Regions from separate parts of the Homo sapiens genome. Here region 1 is linked to region 2. Evidence: promoter capture Hi-C in 16 types of primary human blood cells and fetal thymus (Javierre and others, 2016). All regions are on one chromosome and are shown on one strand. The core of a region is centred on a gene start or on the middle of the fragment in contact, and the rest is flanking DNA. Distances in the headings are between cores, read along the strand shown. Region 1 overlaps PHF6 (PHD finger protein 6). Region 2 holds the start of BRS3 (bombesin receptor subtype 3).

What was found. The method cuts DNA at HindIII sites, captures the fragments that hold promoters and counts their contacts. A CHiCAGO score of 5 or more calls a contact.
Region 1: a contact is called between a fragment that was not itself captured here and the fragment with the promoter of BRS3 in region 2, in 1 of 17 cell types (neutrophils). The highest score is 5.2, in neutrophils.

Annotation. Positions count from the first base shown.
Region 1 is chrX:134,387,006-134,390,910 of GRCh38, forward strand. The region is part of intron 3 of PHF6 (PHD finger protein 6); the gene reads left to right. Among named protein-coding and RNA genes, the nearest start is that of PHF6, 16 kb to the left of the region's middle. The HindIII fragment of the contact is 2,881 bases long and covers 530-3,410 here.
Region 2 is chrX:136,485,298-136,489,367 of GRCh38, forward strand. BRS3 (bombesin receptor subtype 3) reads left to right here and starts at 2,650. Exons shown (of 3, transcript NM_001727.2): 1 at 2,650-3,251. The coding sequence starts at 2,818. The HindIII fragment of the contact is 2,387 bases long and covers 924-3,310 here.

The DNA of each region.
Region 1 (3,905 bases), core at 720-3,219, 2.1 Mb before region 2:
ATTCAGTGGCCTCATTGTCATCTGTGTAGCTAAGCGTACATGCATTGTGAATGTATTCATATAAATGTGATTTTTTTTAAAAGCTCCAGTTATGGCATGCAGATTAATTTTAATGTATGCAGATATTTTACCAGTCATTTATATTAAAATGAACTTTACTTTTGAGGTGATAAAGGAGAATGAATGTAAGGTCAAAGAGAAACTTGGAAGTGTAATGATGGAGGAAATTGGGTCTTTGGCTATTACTGAATACATTTTTTTAATGCATAATTTTTTTATTTGCCTCCATTTAATACTTTTTGGTAACTGGGAATACTGTCAATTAATTTCATTATAAAATCCTCATTTATTTTTGCTAATGGAGGAGATCCAAAACCAATAATATAAACAAAATGTATTCTTGGTGTTGGGGGCTGTCTTGGTACTTATTTGAGCATAGGTGTGGATGAGGTGTTCTTCACAGACTAAATATAGCAAGCGGCATAGCAGTTTAGAGTACCCTCAGCTGGAAAAACCCATACACGAGAAAAGCTTGGACATAAAAATCTGAGCTCAGAAAATGTCTGTCTGAATCTTTCAGATACACAAAAAGAAACTTCAGAAACTCCAATAAGATAATTTATATTCCTCATCAATCATGATGCAGAAAGTCAGATAGAGTTGGAGTATGTGATATTCTGAGCAAGGTCAGGAGATGAGGTTAAGGCTTAGTTCATTTCCCTCCAATTTCCAAGACATCTGAAATAATCTATTCAGTAACTACTTAGATTTAGTCTGTTAAATCTAGTAAAAATTTAATGAGTACTTTTCAGTGGCCCTATTTTTTAGAAGCACCTGGAATTTAAGGTCCTAATCTGTTTTTCAAGCAACTTGTCACTTTTCAGTGACTGACAGCTTTCAGATTTCACTGTTTTCTGGCTTTCCATTTAAACCTTAAAAGTAGTGTTTAGTTTGTGTTCTTATGAGACCTCCTTCAAAATGCTGTATTTTTAAAAAATAGTAACTAAAGGATCAAACAGAAACAGTTATGAGTTCGTATTCCACCCTCCCATGAAGTGGCACTTTTTAAGGAATTTTTAACACATAAATTTAACAAATAAAAACTAAAACAGCAGTTAACCAGATAATTCAGAGCCACTCTGTTGTCTAGTTATTTGGATATGTGAGGTATTACTATAAATAAAGCAATGAAGCTGGAGTTAAGGAGCATTTTTGGGGCATCTCTGAAAACTTGCCCCTAACTGTACTGTCACTTTCTAGTTTTTATTGGAGGTAGTATTACCTGTTATTAAAACAAAAAGCCAAGCACCTGCGTAAAGTAAGCTGCTTTCACTTTGTTTTTGGCTCGTATCTCCTGTGCAAATATCCTCAGTACAGCGTTCCCTACTCCAAGAGCTTTTGGCATTTTTTTTTCTTTGCCTACAGGCTCAAGAACGTGACCTCTTTTTGTACCCTTCTTTGCCTTGTCTGTGCATTTGTAGCAGTTTTCTGGGAGCAGGTTTCTTTAGAACAGTTAACTGCTTGGCTGTGAGAATGTGTATCTATACACTGATAGTCAGTTACTGACAGACATATTAGATATAGGACAATGAAGCTGGACAAAGCTAAGTTGCAGACAGCCTTTCCTCCATCAGTTCCCTATGGCTCTATCTGACCATTAGGTTCCAGCTTTTCCCCAAGAGCCTTGTCGTAGAAGTTGGCAATCTCATTTTCATTTTACTCCCCTATAGTTACTGAGAAAGCAATATTTTTCCTTTTGCTCTTTAAGACTTCTTTTTGCAAACTGAATTTCAGTCCTGTCCTAGTTAAGTTGACTGAGGAGCAGGTATGCCCCAGCCTCTGGCTCCTACCCGACATTAGCTAAGTCTCAGTCCATTTAGTTCCTTGTGTCTCCTCTCATGCATGACTTAGTTCCTCTTTCATCAGTGGGTCAGCTCCTTGAGACTCTGCTTATGTTGCACAATTTAACCTTAAGTTAGTGTAGCTTCTAACAATACGATAGAGACGCCATGCAAATATCTGTAATAAGACAGGACCTCTTTTTCCAGTATCCCTAATTTGAAGCTGTTAATTAATTATTAAGGTTTACTAGGTCGACTAGGTAGCAAACTGAATAGGGGAGTGAGAGAAAAATTATTATTAATGAAGAAGTTTTCACCTCTATCTAAATCAAGAACTTGAAATCAGGATACAAGCAGGATAAGCTGAGAATTAACATGTATGCCTATGTTGGAGGCAGGAAATTAGCCCTCAACAGAATATCTGATACATGGGGCAGGCCTTTTTTGCGGGGAGTTGGGGAGAGGTCTTCCATTGTTTTTGAAAAACATGTTTCTGTCAGGTTAACTTTCATTTTCCCACGTTTGAGGGAGCCATGGATACTGTGCAAGCATGATGGTACATGGCAGCTGACAGTCATTCTGCTGAAGGCCCAGTAGGGACTGTGGTAAATTGGAGAGCAAATGTTTTGTGTAAAGGGAGATACTGGAGCCATTATTAGGGTATAACCAACCAGGTGCCTTGTGGTAGAGGGGTCCCCATTTTCCAGTTATTTCACCTTTTTCTAGGGAAGGCCTCTTTGTTTTATTTTTATTTCCTATAACATTTTTTAAGCTGGACTAGCCACCTATCTGGTTTCTCAGCTTCTTTAATTTTTCTTTTTATCTCATCTTAGTTTTCAACCTTGTTTCTAGCGGGGCTAATCTTTTCCCTGAAACATTCTTGCCACGTTCATTCTGTGCTCCTCCAACTGGATTGATCTCCCCAATTTCACCATTCCCAGTCCTAGATCAGAATGTTTAAATATTTTTAGAAGTAGCTGAAGATAATTATGTTAAATCTGCAGGTATTAGAAACATGAATGAGAAAAAATATGCCATAAGATTAAGATCTTCAATAATAGAGTATGTTTGCAATGACATACTTACTGAACAGTACTTTGTAAGGCACAGTGTTACTCTTCAAAAAAAAATTCTGTCTAGAATGAATTGATTGATAAAATTTATGTATTTATAATCAGCCATATAATGGAGTAAAATGATAAGAGCCAAAATGAACAGTATATATCTTGAGTCCCATAGGAGTTTAGAGAAAAAGGATTATTTTAGAGGTTGGAATATAGCATGGTAGACTAAGATAATTTTCCCTTTTTGTATTCATAGGTAAGCAAGCAAATGTAAACATTGTATTTTGGCTTTATTATGGATAATTTTTGCTATTTTGTTAGTACCTTGCCAGAAATTTGACTGCTTGTATGTGAATGCTGCATAAAATAGGTCCTGGGAATTCTAATTTAGCAAAATTCCAACTCCTAACCTTGTAAAGAAGTTTCCACTCCGAAAATATTTTTTATTGGTATGTCTTCCTCTTTCTTGTCTTTCTTGAGTGAAACTGACTATAAAAATAAAGTAAGCTTTAAAAAAATTATCTGTCCTGAGTTGCTGTAGTTAACTGGTTATTTGCAAAATGCATGTATTTCACCATAGCAGCTTAAAACCAGTTACTTTGGGCAGATTTAAATTTATAACCAGCCAAAAACTATTTTGGTATATTTTGGGTTTTTGGTTCCCATCTTATTCTCACCAGACTGAGAGACGGGTATTGAAAGCATTTACTAGAGTTTTCCTAATTTGTTTTTTAAATAATATTTTTGCATATAAAAGTACTTTTGCCCATTGTAGAAAAATCAAAATACAGGGCATTATGAAGAAAACCAGCCACCCAGAGATAGCCACTTAGCATTTTGCTGTTTTTACTTGCACCTGTTTTAAAGAATCTATGTTATAAACATAGTTGGGTTCATAATTCACATAGTTTTGTATCCTGCCTCATTTTTTTTAACTTAACATTACACATAGATCTTCCTGAGCCATTCCAATTTCTTTGAAAAGAGTGGCTGTAGAACA
Region 2 (4,070 bases), core at 1,400-3,899:
GTATTACAATTCCTTATCTAAAACCAAGTAGTTGTTTTGAAAATCTTGGATGATAATATTGACCACTTATGTACTAAAAACAAAAAAGGATTTCATCATTTTGTATAGGCCAAGTGCCTAGCTAAAAATGATTAACAAGACATGGTTATCTTTTGCTAGTGAATTATAAGGTTGTAAAAGAGATACAAAAGCAAATGCATTTAAATTATCTATCATGAATCACTGGTTAGCCTGGAAATCTCTTGTTCTTTGGTTAATAGAACACGCAGAAAACCTAAGCCTACAATGCCAAATGAGCAAATATGGCTCATTGTCAGGAACTGAGTGTTTTTCAGCTCTTGTCACTGATTTTTAACCTTTCAGAAGCCAAAGAGAATCTGTGTTTCATCTTAGTTCTGTTGAGAACTTGTGAGACCTTGGGTGAGATACTTTCCCTACTCTGGACCTCATTTCTGCCTCTGCAAAATGAGAGCATTTGATTTGATCATGTCTAGGGTCACTTCCATCTCTGATATTCTGGGATTCTGGAATTCTAGAGATCTAAGACCCCCACTGCTCCAGTACTACTCCAATACAACTACTCTCTCTTGACCGCTCTTGATCAGAAGGAAGAGGGAGAAGAAAAAGTATTCCAGTGGCTGCAGCCTGCTGAAAGCATGAGTGAGATCTGGGAATTCAGATAATCTCAGAAATCACATGCAAGCATTACAGAACTTACAAAACAGTGCCATGTGGAGATCGGCTGTGGTGTGAATTGGAAGACATGGTTTGCTCCTTGGTAAATGATACACAGGAGTCCCAGGGAGATTTTATCATTAGTTTGCTGAGAACAAGATGTGAACCCTTTAAGGAGCCCTTTTCTGTAGAGACAATCTTAAAGAACCAGCCCAGTGTATGAAATTACTAGAGTGTATATATCTGAAAGCTTAGGAACTTGGGTTTATGCAAACACTCCCCCGCACCCCCATTCCCATCAAAGGCAGTTATTTAGCTGAGTGATTCAAGCTGTGGCAATAACTTATAAAGGGTGGGGGATAGGTGTGGTTTGGGGGACTTAAACCACATCTGTCTTCCACCCTTCATGAAATTAAGGAGGTAATTGATTCAATTCATCCACTTCACTTTCTCTGAAGAACTGATTGCCCCTACTAAGTATAAAGAACAACCTTTGTTGTTCCCCCTGTTCATTAGCTAGCCAAATACTTTGCTCTTTTTCACTTCGCTCCCCAGACTACTTTCTAATATGGTTATATTTATGAACACCTCACTACATGGTTTCTAGCTGAGAGATTATGCATTGCATTTGATAATTTCAGAGAATATTTCTTAGCAGCTTCAATTAGTAACTACACTCCAACTGCTAGCTTCCTGCTCCCAAACAGTGCCCCCACCACAAACACATACATATAAAGCACATGGTTATGTTTTCTGTAAAAAGTAGCTTCTCTGGCTGGTACTGAGGTGGTTGCCTTAAATGTGTACTTCTTTCAGTTGATGTAAACATCATCTACATGCCCATCATCCCTGGAGTCACCTATTTCATTTCTTCATCTGCAAATGATGATTTTCATTCTTAAAAGTTCTTTTGTGTCAGGAGCTTGAGCAGTGATGTTCTGTATTGTTTTGTTTTGGAATAAGGCAGGTTAGGTTCCCTTTAACCATTTCTAGAGAGAAAAATCCTAAACAGCCCCTTAAAAGAAAACATGGCATTAAAACAGACAGTCAAACAGTAAAAAGTGGTTTTATTAGGACATTTAGAGACAAAGCAACTGGTGCTGTGCCTGGATTTTTCATCTCTTAAAAGGTTGTTTTGGCTGGGTGTGGTGGCTCATGCCTGTAATCCCAGCACTTTGGGAGGCTGAGGCAGGCGGATTGCCTGAGGTCAGGAGTTCAAGACCAGCCTGGCCAACATGGTGAAACCCTGTCTCTACTAAAAATACAAAAATTAGCCAGGCATGGTGGCGGGCGCCTGTAATCCCAGCTACTCGGGAGACTGAGGCAGGAGAATTGCTTGAACCCAGGAGGTGGAGGTTGCAGTGAGCCAAGATCGAGCCACTGCACTCCAGCCTGGGTGACAGAGTGAGACTCCATCTCAAAAAAAAAAAAAAAATTAAAAAGGTTGTTTTGATAGTGTACAGCACAGCCTGGATAACTGCAAAGTTGGGGTTTACCACGTGACAGAGCTAGGTATTAAGCCCAAGTGACCTGAATGATCACTCCTTGGAGGTGACATAAACCCTGTCGAAGTGTAAATGATCTGTTGCTTCACCATCTCTCTGATATTAAATTTTGAGGAGTGGGTTCAAGGTTGTGCTTCAGGGGACACCTACACTTATTTATCATGTAAAACAAAATGCACTAGACTACCATGTGATTGCAGGGGGATAAATGGTTTTTTTCTTAAAAAAAATTGACAAAACCTATATAGACCATCCTGGGTAGATATGAAAACAGGGTGATTCTAATAATAAATAAGACGATTTAATAGGGTCTAGTTGGTCCCAAGATTCCCCAACAGGGAAGAATAAGCAACTGCAGAGCATTTCCCCAGCCCCCTCCCTCTCCTTATGACAGGACACGCCAATAAAACTCCACCTCCTACTCTTCAGTGCCAGATGGGTAAGCATTTAGCCAAGCATGCTGGGAGACACACAGAACTGAAGCAAAGGAGTATCTGGATGTCTTGGATTTTCTTCCCATTCTGTTCTGTTCTGTTCTCCTAATACCATCTCGTTACTAGACGTAGGCATTGGACGTGACAATCAACTGCATTTGAACTGAGAAGAAGAAATATTAAAGACACAGTCTTCAGAAGAAATGGCTCAAAGGCAGCCTCACTCACCTAATCAGACTTTAATTTCAATCACAAATGACACAGAATCATCAAGCTCTGTGGTTTCTAACGATAACACAAATAAAGGATGGAGCGGGGACAACTCTCCAGGAATAGAAGCATTGTGTGCCATCTATATTACTTATGCTGTGATCATTTCAGTGGGCATCCTTGGAAATGCTATTCTCATCAAAGTCTTTTTCAAGACCAAATCCATGCAAACAGTTCCAAATATTTTCATCACCAGCCTGGCTTTTGGAGATCTTTTACTTCTGCTAACTTGTGTGCCAGTGGATGCAACTCACTACCTTGCAGAAGGATGGCTGTTCGGAAGAATTGGTTGTAAGGTGCTCTCTTTCATCCGGCTCACTTCTGTTGGTGTGTCAGTGTTCACATTAACAATTCTCAGCGCTGACAGGTGAGTTTCTTTTCTCCATTATATTTGCCAGGATGTGAAATTGGGCAAAAAGAAAGGAAAGCTTGTACTTAGCATTTACTGGCTACTATTCTGCTTTTCTCACACTCTGTAACGTGGATGTGAGATTGGAAAATCTGGTGGCATTTAAAATAAAAGTTAGTGTAAGAATGTTAAAATTTCTGTGTTAGCACGGAGGAGAAGTTGAAATTGCATGCTTTATGGATAATTTATTCTTATTGTTTGCTCGGAAGTATACTGAACGGGGTTTTTATTTTTCTCCAGTTTATTAAGTAAAGCAAATTGTTCCAGGTGTAAAGGAAAAAAATTCATGCTTTATACATTAGTGCAGCCTAGTGGTGCAATATAGTCAACATGAAAACCAGGATAGGTGTGAAATTGACCACATATGTATAACTGTATATTGGAAGAGTGGTAAAAAGACACAGGCATCTAATTTATTTGAAATTCATCAAATTAGCTAATGGCAGAAAAACGGTGAGGTTTTCAACTCCCTGGTAACTTAGTGTAATGTCATCACGTAATTCTACTTGTTTTCTCTGTAGGCATTCAGTGACATTATCATTTCCAGAGAAATAAATTAATCTTGGTTGACTTTTAGAGCTCTGTGGAGAGAGCGTGTGAGATCCTCTTGCAGTCAGGGTGTTCAGATTCTGTGTTAGGATATTTTCAGTCCAAGTACTCTGTTTTTCTGTGTTCCTATTGTAGAATAACTGTAAAAACATGAAAAAATTTGAGGCTCCAAATGTTAAAAATGATGCTTTACAAAGCCTGCAAGATTCCTGTAAGTAATCGATGTTT